2 separate regions of the Homo sapiens genome follow, and region 2 is linked to region 1. The links are contacts of gene promoters, found by promoter capture Hi-C in blood cells and fetal thymus (Javierre and others, 2016). All regions are on one chromosome and are shown on one strand. Each heading gives the region's core, a stretch centred on a gene start or on the middle of the fragment in contact. The rest is flanking DNA. Distances are from core to core; before and after follow the strand shown.

Region 1 (3,227 bases), core at 387-2,886:
CTATTTTTTGTTTTAATCATTACACACAATGCTCCTCCCTCTCCCAGCCACCACGTGGCTAAACCCCCTTTGGCAATACAGGCAAAGACATAACTTTAGACGTTAACCTTGTTTTAAAATGTGCCTTTCGGCAAATAGATAAGTGAGAAGAGAGATCAGGATCTGGGGGTGTTAACGGCATAAAGTGAGATGCTCCTGAACTGAACGAGCAAGAAAAAATATTTTCTTGAAAGCAGTCCTCCAGAAAGAATTCTTATCATAGATAAGGGTGCAGTCTAGTGGCAAACTTCATGAAATGCAGCCCCTTCTCCAAAGGAAAGTTAGAATACTTCTCAAGGGAGGAAGCACAATGTAAAAGGTGTAACAGCCCACACCAAGTCCACCCAGCAGGGGCAGTGACATTGGTCATTTCTCTCTGACTTGCCTGTGAGGCTCATGGCTCACTCAGGTCAATTTCAGAAAAAGCTAAAACCACCACCTTCCTATTTCAAGGCCTTAGTTTTCTTTCATTTTATTAAAGAGGTTCTAGTGGCATGATTCGGTTCCTGGTCAGGACCTCTTCCAAGCAGGTCCTGTGGCCCTGTCAGCTCATATTCCTGGGATGTGCCTATAAGCACCAACTAACCTGTCAACCTATCACAAGGTCTCCTCCAGCTACTCTGCCACCCACTCCCTCCAGGGATGTGGCCCTGCCCAATAGAAATACCTCTGCAAAGTGACAGAGAGGGAAGTGTCACTCCAATCCACCTTTCTTCCCTCTAAGAACCCCACACACAAGGACACTTTAGGCCACCATGCAAGGTTTTCAGACTTAGCATTTCCTCCAAAGTGTCCATCTCTGCAACTCACTGCTCTCAATAATGCTGTTGTATGAATGTCCATTCCTGCAGATACACAACACACACACATACACACACACACACAGAGAGAGAGAAAGAGAGAGAGAACCTCCCTGGCCAACGCAGCTGAAGGCAACTGGTCACCTCTTCATCATGAGTACTGAAACCCCCTGATTAAATCCTCTTCTCCAGACTTTTAGGGGAGAAATTCAATTTTTTCTTCTTTTTTAAATTTAGCTCACCAGACATCACTGGCCATTCTACACTACCTGTCCCCCAAACACACACACACACACACCCCACATGGAAACAGACACCAGCATACAGTCAATTGCAGAAGCTTAGGAAGATTTCTTGGGCACGGTATATCCAGTTGGCTAATAAGAAAATACGTCTCCCTTCAGCCTGTGCCTTGACTACTTAAAGGATAGGAGGGAAGGGGAGACGAAGTTACTCTCCTCATTGTGTTCACCCTGCTCCGAAGAACTCTGTCTTCCACTGGCCCCTCCACCTCCTCCCCATTCTCGGTAGCCCCAGCCTGTCCCCCTTGCCCCTTTCTTACATTCCGGGGGGAGGAGGGCGCTGTTCAGAGGGGAGGAGGGCGCTGTTCAGGGAGCGAAGGGGAGCCCCCTTGTGTCTAGAAGGCCTCTCCCCACCCCCACCCCGTGTGAGTTTGTACTGCAAAGCTCCTTGGCATCCTTGCCTGAGTTGGGTGTTGGGAAGCTCAAATTGCAGCTACAAACTGGCTGGCAGCCAGGGGCCGGCTATTTAAAAGCGCCTGCTCTCCCGGAGCCCCGTAGTCTCTTTGGAAACTTCTGCAGGGGAAAAGAGCTAGGAAAGAGCTGCAAAGCAGTGTGGGCTTTTTCCCTTTTTTGCTCCTTTTCATTACCCCTCCTCCGTTTTCACCCTTCTCCGGACTTCGCGTAGAACCTGCGAATTTCGAAGAGGAGGTGGCAAAGTGGGAGAAAAGAGGTGTTAGGGTTTGGGGTTTTTTTGTTTTTGTTTTTGTTTTTTAATTTCTTGATTTCAACATTTTCTCCCACCCTCTCGGCTGCAGCCAACGCCTCTTACCTGTTCTGCGGCGCCGCGCACCGCTGGCAGCTGAGGGTTAGAAAGCGGGGTGTATTTTAGATTTTAAGCAAAAATTTTAAAGATAAATCCATTTTTCTCTCCCACCCCCAACGCCATCTCCACTGCATCCGATCTCATTATTTCGGTGGTTGCTTGGGGGTGAACAATTTTGTGGCTTTTTTTCCCCTATAATTCTGACCCGCTCAGGCTTGAGGGTTTCTCCGGCCTCCGCTCACTGCGTGCACCTGGCGCTGCCCTGCTTCCCCCAACCTGTTGCAAGGCTTTAATTCTTGCAACTGGGACCTGCTCGCAGGCACCCCAGCCCTCCACCTCTCTCTACATTTTTGCAAGTGTCTGGGGGAGGGCACCTGCTCTACCTGCCAGAAATTTTAAAACAAAAACAAAAACAAAAAAATCTCCGGGGGCCCTCTTGGCCCCTTTATCCCTGCACTCTCGCTCTCCTGCCCCACCCCGAGGTAAAGGGGGCGACTAAGAGAAGATGGTGTTGCTCACCGCGGTCCTCCTGCTGCTGGCCGCCTATGCGGGGCCGGCCCAGAGCCTGGGCTCCTTCGTGCACTGCGAGCCCTGCGACGAGAAAGCCCTCTCCATGTGCCCCCCCAGCCCCCTGGGCTGCGAGCTGGTCAAGGAGCCGGGCTGCGGCTGCTGCATGACCTGCGCCCTGGCCGAGGGGCAGTCGTGCGGCGTCTACACCGAGCGCTGCGCCCAGGGGCTGCGCTGCCTCCCCCGGCAGGACGAGGAGAAGCCGCTGCACGCCCTGCTGCACGGCCGCGGGGTTTGCCTCAACGAAAAGAGCTACCGCGAGCAAGTCAAGATCGGTGAGCGCGCTCAGTGTGCCAGTCAGTTACGCGGCGCACGGGCGGGGGACACGAGACCGGCTGGGCCCGCGCGCTTTGCGCAGCAAGTGGCTTCGAGCTGGGGTGCAGCTCGGGAGTAGTCGGGGAGGGTCCTTGCACCCCGGAATTGGAGCCCTGGAGGATCCTGCTACCCGGGGGAACTGTCTAGCCGAGTCTATCCCAGCTTTCGCTCTTTCTCCTTCCTCCTACCCACACGTTGCCCGCCCCCTCCCCCTACTCTGTCCGAATACTGATTCTGAGCTCTTATTCGGTCACAAGGTCCAAATCCCCTGGTACCCTATCTACAGTCTGAAAGAGTGTATGTTACATTATCAACTCCCTCCTCCACCCCCCTCGCGCCCCGCATAGGTTTTTTTCTGAACTTGGAAAAAAAATCTCTTTTGTTAAAATATTATTTTAATTGCGGCCTGGAGAGAGAGGCATTACCTATCTTCTGAGCTAA
Region 2 (3,227 bases), core at 221-2,720, 490 kb before region 1:
TATTCTCCTGCCCTCTTGTCTTACAGTCTTACTGACCATCTTATAGTTCCTTGGATGAGCCATGTCCTCTTGCACCCAGACCTTGAGCACTTTTTCTAAGTTCATTTTCTCTCAGACTGACTGATTTCTATGAGATTCTATGGGTATCAGTTTGTGTGTCACTTTCTCTGAGAAACTTCTTCCCTTGACCCCTTGGCTTAGGTTGGAAGTCCACGTTAGGTACTCTCATACTATTTTGTACTCCTATCAAAGCCTATGGATCATTTTATGCATTTGTCCATTTAATTGTCTGCGTCTCCCACTCACCACCCCCCACCCCAGCACCAGGCTATAAACTTGGAAAAAGCAGGAACACATGACAGAGAATAAAAAATTGACACTTGAACTAATGAATTAGTGGATGAACAAATGTAATATAAACCAATGAAGAAACAGTAAATGACTGATGATCATTGCTTCTGGTCCTAATTTAATTCAGATATTTATTCATCTTTTTCCCACTGTGGGACAGATGTTCACATCTAACCCATGAATCGTCAGTGAAAAAGGTCATTAACTACACGAGGGAGAAAATGATGCTGACTACAGTTTTAACCTCCTTTGACTTTCCAAGAACTGCTTTTAGTACATTCTGTTTTCAAAGATCAGCCCCTCTGCTGCTTCCAAAAACCTGTCCCAATCTGTCCAGCTCATCCCTGGCCTTGATTGCAGGGGGGATATTGAGTCCTGCAGCTTCTGAGCCAGTTCTAGTGGAAAAGCAGAGACTGGGGAAGCTGGAGGAAGCAGGATTTGATATTCTTGGCCTCTGGATGCTCCCTGATTATTATTTTTTAATATCCTGAGAACAGATTAGGATGAAGCAGATTAGGGAAAAGTCATGAGACATAAGCCATAACTGAGCTTCTCTCTGCTGAAAGCATTCCCTGGGGAAAGGAAGCTGGCTGCATCCTTTAGTAAAACAGGGTAGGTCTTGGACCTGCTGAGTGTGGGAGGAACCCAACCAAATGCAGTCCACGAATCAAATTTTCCTGCTTCTCACTCTGTCGCCACTTACTAATAAAAACTGGGCCAAGTGACACATGTAAGAAAAACCCAAACTCAGATGGTAATGTGACCTTGCCATCTCCCCTTCCAACGCATACATTAGTTCTCTTTACATACGTACTTCATATTCTGTTCCAGAATCAGGAAGGAGTCTGCCTTTACCCCTAGTTGGTCTACTAATAACTGTTGAAATTTCAAAACCAAACTTTGAACTTTGGTAGTAGAGCTTGAAGTCCCAACTGTGTCAATTTCTTATATTGCAACATGAGGGATGTCCCTGTCTTGGACTCACATGTCTTGGGTGAGTGCCGAACATGAACACAGCCGGACACCGCCACTGACACAGAGTGGGTTCTCGGGTAAAGTTCATCCACTCGGTCACTGATATGGGTGAGCAGGCACAGTCTCAGTTTATGCCTATTGTCTAACATAACTACTAGTAGTGTCCACTTTCCTTTAAAAGTGTCCTATTTGGATGATCCATTTTATAGTCACCCTAGTTTCAGTAGAATGTAATTTGGAATTGTTCCTTGGAAGGTTCCTCTGAGGCAATGGCATCTATTGCAGACATACATCCCCAAGGGCATGCAGTTATCCCTCACGTTTCTGTCTTCCTTCTCTCCTCCTTTTCTTAAGCCCAGGGGGTCTTAAATTCCTTCTCTTCATTTGTACTGGGAGGAACACTTTTGAGATCAGAAAGAAGTGATAGAGAAACTGCCCTGCCCTGCCTCTATTAGTGGAGGCCGATTAACTTTTATTTTTCCCCACATTTCTTTCTAGAGGAGTCATTTAGATCCCTTAATTTAGAGCCCAGGACATTCCAGAGTGCTCTGGGATAACAAATGAATGCATGGCCCAAGAAGGAAAAGCATGACAAATGGCAGGTTCTTGGAGAATCCAACGTGGCATTTTACACATCATAATTCAGGCATGAATGGTTCATCAGAAACTGCTAAAGGGAGAAATCCCGAAGTTAGAGAAATCTATCCCAGTCCAAAATGGCCAGCAAAACATAGAAAATGCCCTGAAAAAAGCAAAGAGAAGACTCGGTTCACAACACATAATAATGTTTCAGTCCATGATGGACTGCATATATGATGGTGGTCTCATAAGATTATAATGGAGCTGAAAAGTTCCTATTGCCTAGTGACATCGTAGCCATGGTAATATTGTACCCATCATGACGTCACCATCATAGCATCATAATGCAAGACATTACATGTTTGTGGTGATGCTGGTATAAACAAACCCACGATGCTGTCAATTGTATAAAAGTCTAGCACACACTATGATGTACAGTACATAATAATTGATAATGATAATAAACAATGATGTCACTGGTTTTATATTTACTATATGTTACTTTTTATCATTAGAGTATGGTCTTTCTACTTACTAAAAAGAATGTTGGCCAGGCGCGGTGGCTCACACCTAGCCCACCAGGCCAAGGTGGGCGGATCACCTGAGGTCAGGAGTTCAAGACCAGCCTGGCCAACATGGTGAAACCCCGTCTCTACTAAAAATGCTAGCCAGGCATGGAGGTGGGCACCTGTAATCCCAGCTACTCAGGAGGCTGAGACAGGGGAATCACTTGAACCTGGAAGGCAGAGGTTGCAGCGAGCCGAGATTGCGCCACTGCACTCCAGCCTGGGCAATAAAGAGCGAAACTCCATCTCAAAAAAAAAAAAAAAAAAAAAAAAGTGAATTGTAAAACAAGTTCAGATGGGTCCTTCAGGAAGACATGAAGAAGGCATTGTTATCATAGGAAATGACAGCTCCATGCATGCTATTGCCCTTGAAGACCTTCCTGTGGGAGAAGATGTGGAGGTGGAAGACAGTGATTTTGACAATCCTGATCTTAGGTAGGCCTCAGCTAATGTGTGTATTTGTGTCTTCATTTTTAACAAAGAAGCTTAAAAAGTAAAAAAATAAAAAATAAAAAAATAAAAAATTAACATGGTAAAAAAGCTTATAGAATAAGGATATAAAGAAAATATTTTTATTCTGTTGTACAATGTGTTTGTGTTTTCAGCTAAATGTTATTACAGGAGTTAAAAAGTTTAAAAAAGTTATAAAGTAAAAAATTTACAGCAAGCTAAAGTTAATTTATTATTGAAGAAAAAAATAGTTTTTATACTTGTAAGTGTAGCCTAAGTGTCCAGTGTTTATAAAATCTACGGTAG

What was found. The method cuts DNA at HindIII sites, captures the fragments that hold promoters and counts their contacts. A CHiCAGO score of 5 or more calls a contact.
Region 2: a contact is called between a fragment that was not itself captured here and the fragment with the promoter of IGFBP5 in region 1, in 1 of 17 cell types (megakaryocytes). The highest score is 6.3, in megakaryocytes.

Annotation. Positions count from the first base shown.
Region 1 is chr2:216,693,958-216,697,184 of GRCh38, reverse strand. It overlaps IGFBP5 (insulin like growth factor binding protein 5), which reads left to right and starts at 1,636. Exons shown (of 4, transcript NM_000599.4): 1 at 1,636-2,746. The coding sequence starts at 2,410. IGFBP-AS1 (IGFBP5 antisense RNA 1) reads right to left here and starts at 2,739. Exons shown (of 6, transcript NR_187138.1): 1 at 2,424-2,739. The HindIII fragment of the contact is 8,390 bases long and covers 1,182-3,227 here.
Region 2 is chr2:217,184,466-217,187,692 of GRCh38, reverse strand. No RefSeq gene overlaps it. Among named protein-coding and RNA genes, the nearest start is that of DIRC3-AS1, 97 kb to the left of the region's middle. The HindIII fragment of the contact is 2,976 bases long and covers 1-2,958 here.